Linked DNA regions of Homo sapiens: regions 1, 2, 3, 4, 5 and 6 are each linked to region 7. Evidence: promoter capture Hi-C in 16 types of primary human blood cells and fetal thymus (Javierre and others, 2016). All regions are on one chromosome and are shown on one strand. The core of a region is centred on a gene start or on the middle of the fragment in contact, and the rest is flanking DNA. Distances in the headings are between cores, read along the strand shown.

Region 1 (2,700 bases), core at 2-2,501, 580 kb before region 7:
GGTTCAAGCAATTCTCCTGCCTCAGCCTCCCAAGTAGGTGGGATTACAGGCGCGCACCACCACGCCCAGCTAATTATTGTAATTTTTAGTAGAGACGGGGTTTCACCATGTTGGTCAGGCTGGTCTTGAACTCCTGACCTCGTGATCCACCCACCTCGGCCTCCCAAAGTGCTGGGATTACAGGTGTGAGCCACCATACCTGGCCTAAAAGTCAATTATATTTCTGCAGAAATTCTGAAGCAACCTCAAGATTCTGAAGCAATTTCAAGGTTCTACATAAAATTAAGTAATAAAATATGTACCAATGAGGTTTCTATATTAATCAGGCTTAGATTTTTGGGACCTGTGCAATTTCCAAAAATCAAAATCATTCTCAAAGGACAAGTACCACCAATATGCAGGCTCTGAAGCAATTCCCAGAAAGGAATCCCAAGATAAGTTCTGAAGAGGAGAAAATTACTCTTTTGGATTTATGTTTTGGTATGCTTGTGGGTATGCTTGTTTTTTTGTTTTTTAAGTCATGTTACTTTATAGTCACTATACTGAAAGTTTAAGAACTTTCTGTGTATACCAACTTTCTGTGTATAGAAACTTAATTCAGTGTTTCACTAATAGCATATTTTTACTTCGACAATAATCTTATTAAATATATATTTTTAAATTAAAAAATGCACTCTAATCTTGATAAATAATGACTATATAAGATTAACTACATTCTTACAGGGTTTATGCAGAGGCATTCGGTATTTGTCGTAGTGAAAGGATCATATTTGTCTGCAATGACAAGTAGATCGGGCACAGGATACACTCTCAAAGCATAGTCATATGCCCAATACACTGGGCAGACATAAAGAGGTAGGGGAGTCAGATGTCCTTGGGATAAGATAGTCTTTACAAACTACAAAAGAGCACAAAACAAAGCAAACTTCAGTTCATTTGCAAAAGTGAAAATAGCTAAACAAATAATTTCAAATTAAATATTAATTACCAAAAGGAACCAGAAAATTTGAGAAACTAGGAAAGCTTTGACTCACAGAGCTTTGGGAGACACTAATTTAAAAGTGAAATAAACTATTCTGTATTTTAGGAAAAAAAATCTATGAGTTTTCATTTAATAACATATACATCATTATGCTGCCCAGGCTGGTCTCAAACTCCTGGCCTCAAGCAAGCCACCCAAAGTGCTGGGATTACAGGCATAAGCCACTGCACCTGGTCCATAAACTTTAAATATTATAAAATGAATAATAAAAATGCTCTGTAACATCTATTTCCGTACTTCTCAAATGGGGGTGTATGTAACCTGTGATTGACAACTATTGTCAGGGAACCTCGAAGCTACAAGATAAATACTGCACATTCTTGTGATATGGACATACTATATAAAATATGTAACCAATGGGATAAATAAGAACAGTTTATTAAAACAAATATACATATATTTTCAAGTATAATTTAAGAGTTTAAAAGGCAAAACACGAAGCTTGAAAGAAATTTCATGCTTATTCTCAGCTTTTCTCTGTCCTCTAAAGGACATACACTTAGGTAGAAAGCTGAGAAACACTGACTTCACTAACAAAAATTAACTTACTGACAAAAGTACGTTCAAACTATTTTGAACCATAAATAAATGTCCTAACCCAAGGACAAATTATTAAGTGGCTTAATAAAATTTTATATAATGCAACATGTAAGGCAGTTTAATAAAAAAGTTGTTTCACTTACGTGATTAGGAATAGCCAAATTGCTGCTAGGAAAACGGACGCAGTTTCTGCACATTTTATTTACTAAGTCTTCACGGAAGACAGTAATTTCCTGTGTACAGTACTGAATTCTGAAATGAAAACAGTAGTTGAATTTGACTTCTCAGAAAAAAATGATATTAATTTTAAAGGTAAAATCTCTTACAATACAACCCCATTCCCACATTCACTGTTCACCACACAAAACTTCAACCAGAGTCTGTCTATTCATCTATTCATTTAACAGCTATGTATTGAGCTCTTAATATATGCCTACCCCATTCTAGGGATTAGCGAACAGAACCAAAAGATCCCAGCCCTCATACAGTTTACATTCTAGTAGGGGGTGGGGCTGAGAAAATAAAAAGCGAACATAATCATATAGTATGTTTTAAGATAATTAAGCATAAGAGAAAAAGAAAAAGACAGGCTAAGAGGGACAGCATATGTGGTAAGAGAGAGCCTAGAAGGCGGGCATATTAATAGGATGATCAGAACAGGCCGGGCTCATAATTTAGTGTGACTTGAGCACAGGCTTGAAGCGGAAGAGGGACTTAGTCAAGCAGATACCCAGAGGAAGCGCACTGCAGGCAAAGGGAACAGATGGAGCCCAGGCCCTCAGACTGGAGCTCGCCTGGCATCCTTGAGGAACAGAAGGGAGGCTAGTGTGGCTGGAGTAAATGGGGAGGAGAGGAAATCAGAGAGGTAACGGAGCCAGATAACACAGGGCCTTGATTACCACTGCAAGGATACGGCTGTCACTAAATCACGAGGGGTCCCTTTTTCCAATGAGGGTCCCTTTTTCCAGGATCGGGAAGGTGGATGGGATATGCCTTATGCTTTACAGGATCACTTTCACACTGCGTTAAGAATAGAATACGGAGAGGAGAATGGCATGAACCCGGGAGGCGGAGCTTGCAGTGAGCCGAGATCGCGCCACTGCACTCCAGCCTGGGCA
Region 2 (2,700 bases), core at 182-2,681, 650 kb before region 7:
CCACTGAATGCCAGTCTGGGTGATAGAGCAAGGCCATGTCCAAAAAAATTAAAATAAATTCTAATTTAGCAAATTACTTTATGTTCAAGACATTAAATGATAATTACCTCATCTAGATTAAGCTTGTGACTTTCTGCCTCTATTCTTTTAAAATTCTAAAAGATAGAAGATACCTGGAACTAGCACACATAATCTAGGCTAATTTTTGGACCCTGTATAGCCTTGATTCCTACACACACATATACTCAGTCTATCTACAAACTGAGCCTTTTATGTTCTACATTAACCTTCCTGAGAAACAGCTAATAGTGCAGCCTTTTTTTTTTTTTTAAGTGATACAAACATGACTCATTGAAACCTGGACCTCTTGGGCTCAAGTTATCCTCTCATCTCAGCCTCCTGAGAAACTGGGACTACAGACATGCACCACCACGCCTGGCTAATTGTTTTTGGGTTTTTTTGTTTGTTTAATTTTGGTAGATAGGGGATCTCCTGATGTTGCCCAGGCTGGTCTGGAACTCCTGGCATCAAACCATCCTCCTGCCTCAGCCTCCCAAAAGGCTAGGATTACAGGCATGAGCCACTTTGCCTGGCCTCTTTTTTTCAATTTTTGTCAATATTGAGGAAATTAAAACACTTTATTATACCCTTCTTAATCATACCACTAGAAGTGTTTTTTCTCTGCCTACCTAAAAACCCAAATCCCTAATACACCAATTACCATTAAAGATAGTTTTTAAGAACGATGTCCTAGCAGAGGTTATGCAAGCAGGCTGCTTTAAAACTGTTGAAGGCCAGGCACAGTGGCTCATGCCTTGATTATGGTTTGTGGGCTGTGTCCCCACCCAAATCTCATCTTGAATTGTACTCGCATAATCCCCACATGTTGTGAGAGGGACCCGGTGGGAGATAACTGAATCATGGGAGCGGTTTCCCCCATACTTTCTCATGGTAGTGAGTAAGTATCACGAGAACTGATGGTTTTATAAGGGATATCTGCTTTCATGTCTTCCTCATTTCCTGCTTGCCGCTGCCATCTAAGAAGTGCCTTTTGCCTTCTACCATAATTGTGAGGCATCCCCAGCCACATGGAACTGTGAGTCCAATAAACCTATTTTTCTTCCCAGTCTTAGGTATGTCTTTATCAGCAGTGTGAAAATGAACTAATACAAGCCTGTGATCCCAGCACTTTGGGAAGCTGAGGTGGGAGGATCCCTTGAGGTCAGGAGTTCGAAACCAGCCTGGCCAAGAGGATGAAACCCCATCTCTACAAAAATACAAAAATTAGTCAGGTGTGGTAGTGGGCACCTGTAATCCCAGCCACTTGGGAGGCTGAGACAGAAGAATCACTTGAACCTGGGAGGTGGAAGTTGCAGAGAGCTGAGCTTGCATCACTGCACTCCAGTCAGAGGAAGACTTCATCTCAAAAACAATACATAAATAAAATTTTAAAAAATAAAACTGTTGGGGGCATTAGCCACACGAACAACTGTCCAAAAGCCAGGGTCTCTGGTTTTTGTTGTTTTTGTTTTTACAGTTTTATTGGTTTTATTTAAACCCCAATAAAACAAACACATTCACTGTCTATTCACTTTCTGCACTGTGCAGGCTGGCATTGGCATTGGTGACTCTGATGACCACCTGGGCTGCTCTTTCCAAGATGGCTTTGCAGTTCTTGGAAGAAACATCATGAGTGATCTCAACACAGTAAGATTTGTTGCTCACCAGCAGTACTTCCAGCTCCTTAACGTTGTGGACCAGGAACTTCCAGAAGCCACTGGGCAGTATGTGCTTTGTCTTTTTGTTTCTCCCATAACCAATGTTGGGCATAGATCTGGCCCTCAAACCTTCTATGAACCCTGTTGTTAATACCTCTGTGTTTCCACCAGTTACCCTTAATTTTGACATATCAGTCTGACTGGTTCCCAGTGAACTTGGTGCTCTTTTTGATGATCTTGGGCTTCGCGAGCGGTCTCAGGATGGCCATGATGGAGGAGATGGGTGTCACCTCCATAGGCAGTGCCAAGGAAGACAGCTCAGGTCTTTCTGTAATGGTAAAAGAGGACCCATAAAAAGTGAAAAAGCAATGATGCCCAACCAAATTCAATAAATTTGTACTGCATGCCTGCCCTGTGAAACATGTTATGTCACTATCAGGATCTAGATTGAGTGGAATTAATTCAGAGAACACCAAAGATCACTCTAAATCATGTTTTAGAGAAACAGTTGAAATAATCAGAGATGGTTATACTGGAAATAAGAAGATTCTAGGAAAACATGAGAGCCTTCATGCCTAAATATTTAGCCCTTTTTTTTTTCAGAGATTAGACTTGTTTTGTACAGGACAACACAGAATTAATATCAATGAGTAGCAGTCAAAATCAGTAGAATGAAATCATAGCAACCTAAGAAAAAACTTACCATCAAAGCAATCTAAAAATAGAATGAGCTGTTTTAGGAGGAGCAGAAGCCTCACTAGCAATATTGGTACCAGGGACATTATACACTGCAGTATCTGGATACTCAATCTCTAAATGAGTCTTAATCAGATACTGCTACAAATCAAATCATAAATCACATCACCCAAAGTCAAATGCTGCTAACATAATGACATGTTTCCTTCTGATTTTTTTCCCTGTGTACTTGTTTTTTAACATAATAAAATTGTAGCACATATACAATTTTTCACTTTTTATAAAA
Region 3 (2,700 bases), core at 7-2,506, 630 kb after region 7:
TCCTGGCATGGTGGCTTGCACCTGTAGTCCCAGCTACTGGGGAGGCCAAGGTGGAAGGATCAGTTGAGCCCAGGAATTCTAAGTGACAAAGAGCTATGACTGCACCACTGCACTTCAGCCTGGGCAACAGAGTGAGACCCCCATCTTTAAAAAAATAAAAGTTGCACAATTAAAGAAATAAATACAATAAATTCATTTCTTGGGAAAAGATTAAACAATACAAAAGTGTGGAAAATAAAAAGCAAAACTGTATAAATAAAAAGCCTTATTTCCCTGATCCTAGTCCCCAGAGATAGTCCCTGTCTCAGTGTGGATTTTAAATACGCATATGGAGGGTCAAAGTTACAAATCCAATATGGCATCGGAAATGTAAAATTATGCCTAGACTTGTCTAGAGAGTCGAGCTGGATGGAAATGCTACAATAAATGCACATTTCTTTTGTAGTGGAAGAAATAAGCTATCTAGAATACAATACATACAAGGAACTCTTTTGATCAGGGAGGGCCTGAGGTTCAGGAGTGGCTGTGCAGTTTGACTCCTGGCTCTGAGCTTTCTCACTGGCTACTCAACAGGTCACTGCCAGGTAGTGTCCCACACCCAGACAGAGGGGTAACCAACCACCCAGTGCAATGAGGCTGCCCATCCTGGGGGAGCTGGATTGTTTGGTTTTAAAATGCCTGGGCTGGAAGTGCATGCTGGGATGGGGGGAAGCAAGCTGACCCGGGGCTGAGCAGGAAGGGCCCAGGAGCCTGCCTGGGAGCTCACCCCTCCCCAACCCTTCTCTTTAAAGCCACCATCATTCTTCCAACTTGTCAAGCCACACCAAGGCCAAGGGAAGCACAGCACCGGTAGGCTAGGGCTTTGGAAAGCAGAGGCAACAGCTGTGCGAGGGGAAAGCTCCGGGCAGGAGGCAGCCCTGGCTGAGTCTAAAAATAAAACCCGGCCTGACAGCCTGACAAAGGGGCTCTTGTCAGGCGCAGCAAGAGGGGCTGTCCTGGCCGCCCTTGTGAGGCTGTTCTGGGGCCATGTGGGGAATCCCTCCCTTTCTGCCTTTGGGGTGTCATTCTCCAACGGCCTCTTCAGGTGGACCAGGCTGTCCTCAGTAAACAAGCCGCCTCAGCTGGGGGTTTAAAGATGGATCGGCCGCGCCACTGCACTCCAGCCTGGGCGACATAGCGAGTATCCGTCTCAAAAAAAAAAAAAAAAAAAAAAAAAAAAAAGATGGATCGGCTGTGGTACCTTTGTGTACAGACTCTCCTGTCTGCAGTGAAAGTGAAACCGGGTACACGCCCATCTTGCTCTTCAGAGATGGGCGATCTGCCTGTGCCATACTAGAACAGCAGCTCCAGATAGGCAGGGATGAAACACATCCGTCTTTGGGAAGGAAGAAGGAGTGCCGCTGTGTTTCCCCATTTTATAAAAAGGAGCCCTTGGAACCGATTTGCTCTCAAGATGTTGTCAGCTCCAGGCCAAAGTGGGCTCCCCACAAAGGCAGTCCTTTTACTCTCTGCACCGCACAGAGCTCGTTTTCTGAGCCTGTGGGGTGGGAATATCCCGCCTGTGCTCCCCGGGTTTCAACTCGGCTGGTCAGGAGGAAGTTTCTCAGCTTTAAAATGATCAAATTCCTCAACGGATTGAAAAAAAAATGTCAATAGAAAAAGCAAAAACATCAGGGAAATTAGAAAATTAAGCACTAATGAGGAGCAGGAAACATCTGCTAGAAGGAATTCCTCTAGTATTTAATTTTAAAGGTTTTAAAAATGTGTATCTTTTTGGTGTAAATAATTTTAAAACAGAGCTAGCCGGCATCTCAATCTCTAGATTCAAACTTTCTGGCTCCAAGGTGTCACCATTGTTTGTGCTGCTCATCAGCTCACTGCTGCCCCCGCGTGTCTGATCTAAAAATCACAACACAGAGCTTGTTATCAATTTTATGCTTTGCAAATAAATGGAGAAAAGTCCCACCCACCCCCGCCCCCAACCTATTAGCTCCCATGACAACAAACGGTATAGAATGAAAGCAATGTTTTAGCTTGTTAGTGACAGCTGCATAACCCAGGTGAATTTTCAACAAGTCTTTCATTCGAGAAGATATCATTAGATTACTTTTTTTTTTTTTTTTTGCAATTCATTGAGCCTTTGCTGAAAGGATAAATTTAATTCTTAGAGGGAGTGGTTATGGTTATATTAGTGATGTAAGTCTTACTAATGATATCCTCTTCCTGAGAAACTACATGAGTTACTTATTGACCTGCATTAGAGTTTATTTTATAACATTACATAAAAACCCTACATTTAAGATGATTGAAAGTTTGCTTTCAATCACAAAGAGTCTGTGATGTGAGAGAATTTCTGACATAAGGCTCAAACATTAACCAAAGGGCAGCTTCTTTGTGTTCACCTGGTACCTTTGTCTGTAGTGAGCAGATTGGATCACTGTTTTGATGTGAAACTAGTCTGCCTCTGTGATTTCTACTGAGGACCAATTTTTCCTATTTCTTGCTCATCTATGTAGTTTATCTGAGCCACTTTTTGCTTTATAAAAACTGGGACCACACAGAATATCATGCTGCTCTAGAGGCAATTTGGAAAGTGCCTTCCATCCTGAATAGATCAGGGGGACTGCTTCTTTATGCAGAAAGGACACAGTCCCCTCTTCAACATTACCTGTATGGAAGAAATGGCCACTTGTTCCCAAT
Region 4 (2,700 bases), core at 49-2,548, 600 kb before region 7:
CTGTAGTCCCAGCTACTTGGGAGGCTGAGGCAGGAGAATCGCTTGAACCCAGGAGGCGGAGGTTGCAGTGAGATGAGATCGCGCTACTGCACTTCAGCCTGGGTGACAGAGGGAGACTCCATCTCAAAAAAAAAAAAAAGAAAAACTTTTCTTCTCTTAACATCACTCTGCCCAACCATTATGTAAATTTTGTTTAAAGTTATGATATTAAGAAATCAATAATTTGTTAGGTTTTAACTCTGTGCTTCATTACTCCTCTATAGAGCCCATCAACTTCCTTACCTTTGCATTAATTTGAATCTTATTATCAGTAACTTGAAGAACTTCAATTAATGGTGGGGTCAAGGACATAGACTGTTTGAATGGAGAGCTCAGGACCTCTTCAAGAAACTCATTAACATTTTCTTCATTGACAAATAACCTTTCCTAAAATAAAAAGGGAAAAAATATTCTGCCTAATAAGTCCCACTTGACAACAGTTGTATCTCAAAGCAGCTCACAAAAATTCTCACATTGTTCAGGGTTACACTTTTTAAAATGTTTATTTTAATGTTATTCCTATGAGCTGTCTTAGAAAAATTTAAGTTTGGTATTGTACAGAGCAATAAGAGTTGTACTGAGAACAAACATAAACGTATAGAAAAAGAACCTAAAAGAAAGAGGTCTTGGTACTTTTTCTGTCTATTAAACCTGACCTTTTAGTATTTTTCTTTCTTTTTTTGTTTCTTTTGTTTTGTTTTTTTGAGACATAGTCTCACTCTGTTGCCCAGGCTGGAGTGCAGTGGTGCAATCTCGGCTCACTGCAACCTCCGCCTCCCAGGTTCAAGCAATTCTCCTGCCCCAGACTACCGAGTAGCTGGGATTACAGGCGACTGCCACCATGCCGGACTAATTTTTGTATTTTTGGTAGAGATGGGGTTTTACCATGTTGGCCAGACTGGTCTTGAACTCCTGACCTCAAGCTATCCACCTGCCCTGGCCTCCCAAAGGGCTGGGATTACAGGTGTGAGCAACCACAGCTGGCCTCTTTTAGTATTTCAGAAGAATAACATCATCTCTAGGGCTATAAATGGGATCCCAGATACAAAATATAATTCAGCTTTAAAACATTTCCTAATGAGGTGGCTAAGAAATATACATGAAAAGATCTATTCAAATTTTGTGTGACCTTTTAGTTCTTGGGCAGGTAAGAGCCAATTACAGTATTTTATTTCAAATAAGTGGTGTGTTTTTTTGTTTGATTTTGTTTTTGAGACAGAGTCTTGCTCTGTCTCCCAGGCTGGAGTGCAGTGGCATAATCACGGCTCGCTGCAGCCTTGACCTCCCAGGCTCAAGTGATCCTCCCGCCTCAGCCTCTACAGTAGCTGGGACCACAGAACATGCCACCACTCTCGGCTAAGTTTTGCATTTTTTTGTAGAGACAGGGTTTTGCCCTGTTGCACAGGCTGGCCTCAAACTTCTGCACTCAAGTGATCCACCTGCTTTGGCCTCCCAAAGTGCTGGGATTACAGGCGTGAGCCACCACCACACCCAGCCCCCGCCCCCCTTTTTTTCTTTTTTTTGCCTTGAGACAGGGTCTCACTTTGTTGCCCAGGCTGGAATGCAGTCGCACACTCATAGCCCCCTGCAGCCTTGACCTCCCTGGCTCAAGCAATCCTCCACCTGTGCCCCCAAGTGCCTGGGTACCTGGGACTACAGGTGCATGCCATAATGCCCAGCTAATTTTTACATTTTTGGGGCCTGGTGTGGCAGCTAACGCCTGTAATTCCAGCACTTTGGGAGGCCAAGGTGGGTGGATCACTTCAGGTCAGGAATTCGAGACCAGCCTGGCCAACATAGTGAAACCCTGTCTCTACTAAAACTGCAATCACGTGAACCCGTGAGGCGGAGATTGCAGTGAGTCCAGCCTGGGCGACAGAGTGAGACTCTGTCTCAAAAAAAAAAATTTGACATTTTTTGTAGATACAGGTCTCACTTTGTTGTCCAGGCTGGTCTCCAACTCCTGGATTCAAGCTGTCCTCCTACCTTGGCCTACCAAAGTGCTGGGATTACGGGCGTGAGCCACTGCACCCAGCCAAGTGTATTATATTTTTAAGCACTGGGATACTCCAGCGTAACATTAGCAAACTGTATAGTTATTAAAAGAATGAAGTAGAGAGCATATATTCAGGGCATTTTGAATCTATGCTCCAGAGAAAAAGTAAATTATGAAAAAAATTAGGCTGGGCACAGTGGCTCATGCTTATAATTCCAGCACTTTAGGAGGCCAAGGCAGGTGGATTGTTTGAGCCCAGAAGTTCGAGACCAGCCTAGGCAACATGGCAAAACTCATCTCTACAAAAAATACAAAAATTAGCCGGGAGTGGTAGCATGCACCTGTGGTCCTAGCTACTCCAGAGGCTAAGGTGGGATGATCGCTTGAGTCTGGGAGGTTGAGGCTGCAGTGAGCCATGATCGCACCACTGCACTCCAGCCTGGGTGAGACAGAGCGAGACTCTGTCTCCCAAATAAATAAATAAATAAATAAATAATGAGGTAGATTTCAAGATGCTGACATGAAAAGATTTCTAAACTATTACTAGAAAATGCAAAAATCACCTTTTACCTGAATCCCAAACACAAAGCAGTTTGTTCATGTCAAGTGAATACAGGTGTATAGTTAGGGTGTGGGGAGAATAACCATATTAACCATATTTTAAA
Region 5 (2,700 bases), core at 4-2,503, 590 kb after region 7:
TAAACATCAAAGCCTCAGAAAAGAAACACCAAGTTGTTATGCAAAGCCACAGGAGTTAAGAATTTAGACAAGGCCAACACTTCGCTAACAAGATTCACTTAGAGTCCACCAGTTAATTGTCAACTAAGATCTGCTGAGAATCCCCAAGGTGCTCCAGGATTTTCAGTGTTGCGGTAGCTCTTAGTCTCACTCTGAGTTTTACAGTCCCCTGGGCTGTTATCTGACCGACCTCATAAAAGCAAGACTCTTCTTTTGCTTGATTTTGCATATATGTTTAAAAACTCAAAAGCGAAAGAATTCTAACACTTCCCTTTTTAAAAATTATTTTTAAGGGGCGGGGATTTGTCCATCTTAAACCAATGAAAGAGAGGAATAAAACACTGATGTACTGAGAAGCCCTGATCTTATCCACGGTGTCGAATTTGATATACTATCATGCCCCACTCTTTGGGAGGTCATTGGATTTTCACTAAATCAAACCTCTTTCATTTTATGGCAGCTTTCTTTTCTTTATCTCTTTATTTCATCTCCTTCCTTCTCAAAACACTGTGCTTGACTGAAGGGGAGACAAGCACCACCCCTGTGGAACAAATGCTCACGCTGAAACATCCAGGAGATGTTACGCATGGTGACAAGTTGTCAGTGCTCATCTGGCACAGAAGGCATTTTTACTGGTTGATATTATTTCCCAAATGTTCATCAGTAATTTCATGTGCAAGAATTTTTTTCTCCCCACTTGGCAGAAAGTTCTTTAATGGTAAGATCCACGCTCCTATTTCTTTTATATCTTCCCCCAAATGCATACTACAGTCAGTCTGTTCTTCAAGCCAGGGATTTGGTAAATATCATGGATTGACTTCCTGTATGGATCACTCCTTGAGAGGAAACGTACCCTAAATGAGGTCTACAGAAATGGGCATATGAAAATTTTGGAATGCCCATCTCATCCACCTACACACCTCCACTTCCCCCATCCCACCCTTTCTCAAAGGCATTTTCAGCCTCCTAAGCAAGAAGTAGAAAGCCAACACCAACTGCCAATCTGTAACATGCAGCGCTGTCTGAAGTTTAATTCAATAGGCTAGTAATTAAGTAAATGGATTCACAAACTTCGACTGCATTGTCTTGCTATGGGATGAAACTTTGGAGGAGAATCTATACTAAAACCTTTCTCAAGTCCCCTCGATTACAGCATGAGAATAACAATATCCATCTGGAAGGTTTGTTCTGAGAGTTAAATGTGGCAAGCAAGCGAGAGTGGCTAATTCCAGAGAAAGCTGATACAAGAGGGAATTTAAGATAACCAAAAGAATACCTGCAGCTACAAAGGAGTGGTAAACTGAAGAGGAGGTAACAAGTGAATTATCTACAGATCTACCTCCAAAGAAGCAAAGCAGGAGATGTGAAATGCTATAGAACAGACTGAGAATGGGCAGGGAGTGTACTATGTATATAAACATCATTATATAACTAAATGATAATGGCAGCAGGTAATGTTCAGAGCTTCCTCTATCTTTAAAAGCAGGTTATTGATAAATTTAATGTCAAATAAAAGCAGAAAGCTGCACTGTAACTGGGAATTACTTCTGAACATTTACTATGAGTCTGGCCTAAACTAAGTACTTTATGTATATCATCTCATTTAATCCTCCCAAATCTTAGAAGTGGATCTTCTCATTTTCCCACGCAAGATGTAGAAATTGGGGCTTGGCAAAATTAAGCCACTGTCCAAGGAGACAGCATTAATCTCCTTGAACAAAATGGGGGTGGAGCCAAGATTTGCACTCTAGTGTGACACTGAATTATATTATCCCTCAATCCTACACATGCACACAGAACACATGAATGAGACCTCTGAAATGATGCCATTGGCAAACCACTTATCTCCACCTTTATGTGTTAGCCAGTTGAACAGTACTAAGCAGTAGAAATCCCCACACAACACTCCATGGCCACAAACTTTTCCAAATTGGAATTGAGAAGCAGAGTTCCTTCCTTCCTACCTCCCTTGATCCATTTATTGAATAATTATAGCCTACAAGGCACCAGGGATATACAGATAGAATACACATTCCCTTTTTTTTCTAAAGCAGCTTTGGGATTTAGGGCATGAAAGAAAGAAATTCTTATATAAAAATGATCATGAAGTGTCCCATGTCTTCAATAATGGGCATTGCCCAGGAATTGGTAATTCGTAAATGACTTCCCCTGAATAAACACTTAAGTATGTATAATCTGTGCAATCCAGTGCTTTTCAGGGTCAGATCCTAACTGGTACCCACCAGAGGCAGGAGTCTTACTCAGAGATTAAGAAAGTTACATTTTGAGCGAGAAATTCTACTTCAAATTGCAAAGAAGAGCTCCAGTGTTACGAAGCCTGCCATAATAAACCTGGGCCTCTCCTCACCATCTACCTTTCCAGTCAAATTGTCAGAAGGCTTTATGACTCTTTCGGAATGAAAGAACCAGTATGGGCAATATTTTGGAGTTCTAACTGGGGATGGTTAAATAAGAAGCAGATGCACAGAACCATTAATCAAAACATTTACCACTCAATAACCACCCATAATGACAATTATTCTGAGCATTTTCCTTCCAAATAACTCAAAATAAGGCTGCCAAAATGCTGCCGACTCTGACAGTGGTGTTCATTACCCCAGCTGATGAAATCACAGTGCCAAATAGGACTGCAAACTAAAT
Region 6 (2,700 bases), core at 175-2,674, 630 kb before region 7:
TTTTTTTTTTTTTTTTTTTGAGATGGAGTCTCATTCTGTCACCCAGGTTGGAGTGCAGTGGGAAGAGCTTGGTTCACTGCAACCCACAGGTGGGTGCCACCACTCCTGGCGAATTTTTGTCTACTGTGCCTGGCCCTTACTGTAATCATTCCTTTTTTTTTTTTTTTTTTTTTTTTTTTAATGAGACAGAGTCTCTCCCTGTCACCCAGGCTGGATTACAGTGGCGTGATCTCAGCTCACTGCAACCTCCACCTCCCGGGTTCAAGCGATTCTCCTGCCCCAGCCTCCCAGTAGCTGGGATTACAGGCACGTGCCGCCATGCCCAGCTAATTTTTTGTATCTTTAGTAGAGACGGGTTTCACCATGTTGGCCCGGCTGGTCTCAAACTCCTGACCTCGTGATCCGCCCACCTTGGCCGCCCAAAGTGCTGGGATTATAGGCATGAGCCACCGTGCCCGGACTGTAATCATTCTTATAAAAATATAAACTGAGGCTGGGTGCCATAGCTCACACCTGTAATCCCAGCACTTTGGAAGGCCAAGACTGGTGGATCACTTGCTCTCAGGAGTTCAAGACCAGCCTGGGCAACATGGTGAAACCCTGTCTCCACAAAAAAAAAAAAAAAAATTAGCCAGGCGTGGTTTTCACACCTGTGGTGCCAGCTACTTGGGAGCCTGAGGTGGGAGGATCACTTGAGCCTGGGAGGTGCAGGTTACAATGAGCCAAGATTGCACCACTGCACTCCAACCTGGGCGACAGAGCCAGACCCTGTCTCAAACAAAACAAAACAAAACAAAACAAAAATACCATAAACTGGCTGGGTGCAGTGGCTCACACCTGGGAGGCCGAGGCAGGAGGATCACTTAATCCCACAAGTTAGAACCTGGAGGCCAGACACGGTGGCTCACGCCTATGATCCCAGCACTTTGGGAGCCCTAGTTGGGCGGATTGCTTGAATCCAGGTGTTCAAGATCAGCCTGGGTGACATGGTGAAACCCCATCTCTACAAAAAAATTAGCCAGGCATAGTGGTGTGCACCTGTAATCTCAGCTACTTGGGAGGCTGAGGTGGAGGGTCACCTGAGCCTGGAAGGTCAAGGCTGCAGTGAACTGTGATTGCAGCCACTGCACTCCATCCTGGTTGATAGAGCAAGACCCTGTCTCAAAAAAAAGTTCAGGGCTTCGGTGAACTATGATTGTGCCACTGTACTCCAGCATGGGTGACAGAGCAAGACCCTTTCTCAAACAAAAAAAATTTATAAACCATTAGAATTTTAAAACTGGTGGTTTTTTTCTGCCTTCTGCCCTCTGCCCTATTCCTCTTTCCCTTCCTGATGGGTGGAAACAATGTCTCGTTGTTCAACCTTGCTTTTTTTTTCTTTTTGATGAGACAAGGTCTCACTCTCACCTAGGCTGGAGTGCAGTGGCACCATCACAGCTCACTGCACCCTCGACCTTCCAGGCTCAGGTGATCCTTCCTTCTCAGCCTCCCAAGTAACTGGGACTATAGGGGCACAACACCATACCAGGCTAATTTTTTTGTACTGGTAGAGACAGGGTTTCACCTTGTTGCACAGGCTGGTCTCAAACTCCTGGGCTCAAGCAATCTGTCCACGTTGGCCTCCCAAAGTGGTGAAATTACAGGCATGGTCCACCACATCTGGCCCAACTGTGCATTATTTTTAACTCCAAGCAAAGTGCTCTGCAACATTAAAAGTTCGATAACTAAGGAGTTTGGATTGAATGGAATAATTTTGTCCCATCTCCTCCTTGTGATTTTTCATTTTTTTTCTTGACTTGCAGCTTATTCTTTCACTAATTCTTCCTTTCTATCTAAAAACAAGCTGAGATCTTACTGATTTTAAAAAAAGAAAACAAATTTCTAGAAAGACAAGGCTGAATTCATTGTCTCCACTTTTTATCTTTTGACCTTTACTGGTTTACTGAAAACACTGTCTCAGAGATCACTGATCTTTTCACTTGTCTATCACAGTATCATTATTTCTCATTATTTTTGCACTCTGTAGAATTTGACAATGATAATTACCCTTTTCTTAATAAAACTCTTTCTTTTCTTGGTATCTATGATAGGGCACTATGGTTTACCTTCAGTTTTCTTAGTCACTTCTTTGTCTCTTGCTTCCAGCAACATTTTTTTCTATCCCCAAAATAAAGGCTTTATTTCAGTCCTCTGCTGTTTTCTGTCATACCTGCCTTCCATTTGATAGTTCAGCTGTTATATGGGTGAATCCCAAGTCTGTGAACCAGTATGCTTTATTGTACCTAGTTGACCCAGGTCTTCTCCAGACTTTTCCCTACTCTGGTTCATTGTGTACAGTGCTACCAAAATAGTATTTAGTTCTTGTCATGTAACTTTCATACTTAAAATCCCTCCACTTTACGTTGGCATCTGAGCTCATTTACAATCTGTCCTCATACTGTATTTCCAATCTTTTGCTCTACATAGCTTCCATGTTCCAACAAAAATTAGCTTTTTTTTTTTTCTTTTTTTTTTTTTTATATGGAGTCGCTCTGTCGCCCAGGCTGCCGTGCAGTCTTGCGATCTTGGCTTACTGCAACCTCTGCCTCCCAGTTTCAAGCAACTCTCCTGCCTCAGCCTACCAAGCAGCTGGGATTACAGGCGCCTGCCGCCATGCCCCACTAATTTTTATATTTTTAGTAGAGACGGGGTTTCACCATG
Region 7 (2,700 bases), core at 169-2,668:
TAAAATACACTACTTCCTTTCATTTATAGAAATTTAATGTCTGAGGATATATTTTCCAAGTATAGTCTTTTAAATTAATCTTTATTTTTTCCTTATTTTAGAATGTATTCTTGGTTATTTTGCACAAAAGGCAGAAGAGACTAAGTCTGCATTAACGGCAAAGAAAGAAAGCCCCTGCTCAACAGGCATGACAGCTGATCACGCACCTATTCACAGTCTTTAAATGTCTTGATCTTACAGAAGGATTTATTATAAAAATGATCGTATGGTTACTACCTAAATTCACAGAGGAAGACCGCCACCATCTACAGGAAAGATGCACCCTAGCAATGCACCCAAACATGAAAGACTGATTTGCAGGAGTTGCCCCTTTCTTGTTCCTTAAAATGATTTCAAGTCCTAAATCGCAATTTGGTCGTGAAGACACTGAAGACACTGACCAAATTTTCTAAGGGTAATCTCTTGTAAACAGGTAAGACACCGTTTGCAGGAAGTGGGAAGGCGCTTTAAATTTACCTTGAGAACTGTAAAATGAATAAGAATATTATGACTCACTGACATTTCACACATGTGAAACATCCATATTACAAAAAACCATTGCCTCATAAGTGGATACCCTTGACAAGCAAACCGCCTAGGGGGAACACTCCCAAAGAACTTAATTAAAAGTAATTACCCGGCCTGAAAATGTGCTTTTGTTTTAGAAACTGTCTAAATACCAGCGGGACTTTCTCTTGCCCGATTCCAGCCTGAGGACAACAAATTGGTCAACGGCGGAAGTTGCCTGACGAAATGACTGCAACATGAAATCCAGTTTTATGATCATAACAAAACCTTCCTTCCGGGACCAGGCAAAAAAAAAAAACTTGAGAAACGTCCTTCAGAATGCAACAGGCAATTGTGAGCCCCCCATTGCCAGCCAACGAGAAACGGCTCGGCCCCGGGGACTCGAGCCCTGTGGGAGGGACGACCTGCTCCCCGTTAGAAGCTCGGGGGGCCACGGGCCACCCGCCGGCCGCCCCGCCCCTAGCACTGACCTTCCGCAGGGCCGAGACCAACAGTCCCCGCCATTTCGGACTGTTCTCCTCGCTGAAGAACTCGTAAGGCTGCGGCGCCTGCTGCATGGCCCCGGCGACAGCGCCTCCGCATCGGGGGCAGCCCGCGGGCCGGGCCGGTGGCCTGACAGGCAGGGCGCGGGCCGCCTCGCCTCGCCGGCGGCCGCCGCCTCCCGCCCGGGCCGAGGCTACGGCCGAGGCGGCTCGGAGGCGGCGCCGGCGGGCTGGCGGAGACCCCGGGGTCGGCTTCCTCCGCCGAGGCGGCCCTCGCCTCCCGCAGCGCCCGCAGAGGAAGCGCGGCGACCCGCAAGCCCGGGCGACCCCGGGCGGCGACCTCCTTTCCCGGCGGCGCTGGCCCGCTTCTGGGGCGGCTCCTCCTCCTTTGTCTGGGTTCGCGGCCCGTCAGGGGTACAGCTGGCCCAGCCCCGCCCCGACTCCCGCTACGGCCGCGGCGGGCGGTGAGCAGCGGCGGCGGCGGCGGCGGCTGCTCGTCTCCTCATCGCCTCCTCCCCGCCCTCCCAGCCGACAGCGCCGCCCGGCCCTGCCCACTCGAGTCACCTCCACAGAGCTCTGGGGACCGACCCGGAGTGCGCGTCGGGCGAGCGAGCCTCGCTATGGCGCGCACAGCGCTGGCCGCCGTTGCTGCCCCTTTAGCAGCAGCGCAGAGTGCCTTGGGGTCGCCGCTGAGCCCTGAGTCCCAGCAGCCGAGGCTCGGCCCGCCCCCTCGGCCCGGCGCTCATTATCCCGAATAGCCCAAGAGGCCTAACACGGAGCATGCGCGCCGCGGAGCAGGCACAGGCGCCAGCCCGGCGCGGGGGTGCGGGGCCTGGGGCCCCGGGGGAGTCCGCTTTTCCCGAGACTGTGCTGGGGGCCGCTCCAGACTCTTCAGTTTGACTGCTTTTTACCCATATGCTCCCTCCTCTCGACCTGCTTAAGACAATCCGGACTCGGTGCCACTCTTGTAGCGCTGGAGCCCCAGGACTACCGTCGTGGGAGGCTGCATAGGGACGTGGAGAGAAAGGGGCATTCGGGCTGGACAGGATATTTAACGTATTTGTGCTCTACGTGGCTTGTTTTCATGAGTACCGTATGTTTACACAAAGTAGGTACTATATATAATATATCGTTAGGAGATACAGTAACTATTTCTTAGGGTGATGGTGTGGGGACCGAGAGATGAGGCGTGGAAAGCCCTTAGCCTGGTGGTAGGGTCAGAAGGGGCAGATGACAGTGACGTTGATCAAGCTTGAATTGAAAGGTCCTTCACTTGCACGGGCCCCTGTGCGTTCACAAAATCATATCGTTTTTACAAAACTTTCAAGATATTTTCGAATTGTTTTCTTAATCGTGTCATCCAAATTGTGTAGGCTTCAGGTCCTACAAAACCTGGATCGGCGTCTAGGAAACACTCATTAGCAACCCAGAAAAGATCCTGACAAGCTTTTCAATCCAAAGAGGCATAGGCTCTGGTAACTCATTACCACAAATTTCATCCCACTAAAGAGGCTGAGCACATTACTTTTAACAGGTTGTAAAGAAGATATTTTACTCCCTGTCCCTAGCCACCAGCAGTGAGAAAGGGAAAAGACGAACAGGGTACAAAAAATAAGTCAGTACTACAATTCAGTTCCGGCATCAGTAGCTG

The links. The method cuts DNA at HindIII sites, captures the fragments that hold promoters and counts their contacts. A CHiCAGO score of 5 or more calls a contact.
Region 1: a contact is called between a fragment that was not itself captured here and the fragment with the promoter of SOS2 in region 7, in 2 of 17 cell types (fetal thymus and total CD8 T cells). The highest score is 5.6, in fetal thymus.
Region 2: a contact is called between a fragment that was not itself captured here and the fragment with the promoter of SOS2 in region 7, in 2 of 17 cell types (non-activated CD4 T cells and activated CD4 T cells). The highest score is 6.9, in non-activated CD4 T cells.
Region 3: a fragment that was not itself captured here is called in contact with the fragment with the promoter of SOS2 in region 7 in 1 of 17 cell types (neutrophils); the score reaches 5.4 in neutrophils.
Region 4: a contact is called between a fragment that was not itself captured here and the fragment with the promoter of SOS2 in region 7, in 3 of 17 cell types (total CD4 T cells, monocytes and fetal thymus). The highest score is 6.4, in total CD4 T cells.
Region 5: a contact is called between a fragment that was not itself captured here and the fragment with the promoter of SOS2 in region 7, in 4 of 17 cell types (fetal thymus, neutrophils, activated CD4 T cells and 1 more). The highest score is 6.7, in fetal thymus.
Region 6: a fragment that was not itself captured here is called in contact with the fragment with the promoter of SOS2 in region 7 in 1 of 17 cell types (fetal thymus); the score reaches 5.0 in fetal thymus.

The regions. Positions count from the first base shown.
Region 1 is chr14:49,649,544-49,652,243 of GRCh38, forward strand. It overlaps POLE2 (DNA polymerase epsilon 2, accessory subunit), which reads right to left. Exons shown (of 19, transcript NM_002692.4): 16 at 1,726-1,834; 17 at 722-898. Among named protein-coding and RNA genes, the nearest start is that of DNAAF2, 16 kb to the left of the region's middle. The HindIII fragment of the contact is 460 bases long and covers 1,022-1,481 here.
Region 2 is chr14:49,575,808-49,578,507 of GRCh38, forward strand. It overlaps a transcript of RPS29 not described here and the pseudogene RPL32P29. Among named protein-coding and RNA genes, the nearest start is that of RPS29, 9.2 kb to the right of the region's middle. The HindIII fragment of the contact is 2,623 bases long and covers 121-2,700 here.
Region 3 is chr14:50,858,801-50,861,500 of GRCh38, forward strand. No RefSeq gene overlaps it. Among named protein-coding and RNA genes, the nearest start is that of ABHD12B, 12 kb to the right of the region's middle. The HindIII fragment of the contact is 5,285 bases long and covers 1-2,700 here.
Region 4 is chr14:49,627,730-49,630,429 of GRCh38, forward strand. DNAAF2 (dynein axonemal assembly factor 2) reads right to left here. Exons shown (of 3, transcript NM_018139.3): 2 at 283-426. Among named protein-coding and RNA genes, the nearest start is that of DNAAF2, 6.2 kb to the right of the region's middle. The HindIII fragment of the contact is 7,948 bases long and covers 1-2,700 here.
Region 5 is chr14:50,823,862-50,826,561 of GRCh38, forward strand. The region is part of intron 2 of NIN (ninein); the gene reads right to left. Among named protein-coding and RNA genes, the nearest start is that of NIN, 6.0 kb to the right of the region's middle. The HindIII fragment of the contact is 4,605 bases long and covers 1-2,700 here.
Region 6 is chr14:49,603,530-49,606,229 of GRCh38, forward strand. All of the region lies in intron 2 of LRR1 (leucine rich repeat protein 1), which reads left to right. Among named protein-coding and RNA genes, the nearest start is that of LRR1, 5.9 kb to the left of the region's middle. The HindIII fragment of the contact is 5,469 bases long and covers 1-2,700 here.
Region 7 is chr14:50,230,160-50,232,859 of GRCh38, forward strand. It overlaps SOS2 (SOS Ras/Rho guanine nucleotide exchange factor 2), which reads right to left and starts at 1,419. Exons shown (of 23, transcript NM_006939.4): 1 at 1,038-1,419. The coding sequence starts at 1,124. RefSeq lists a silencer at 1,011-2,090 and an enhancer at 2,241-2,330. The HindIII fragment of the contact is 6,352 bases long and covers 1-2,298 here.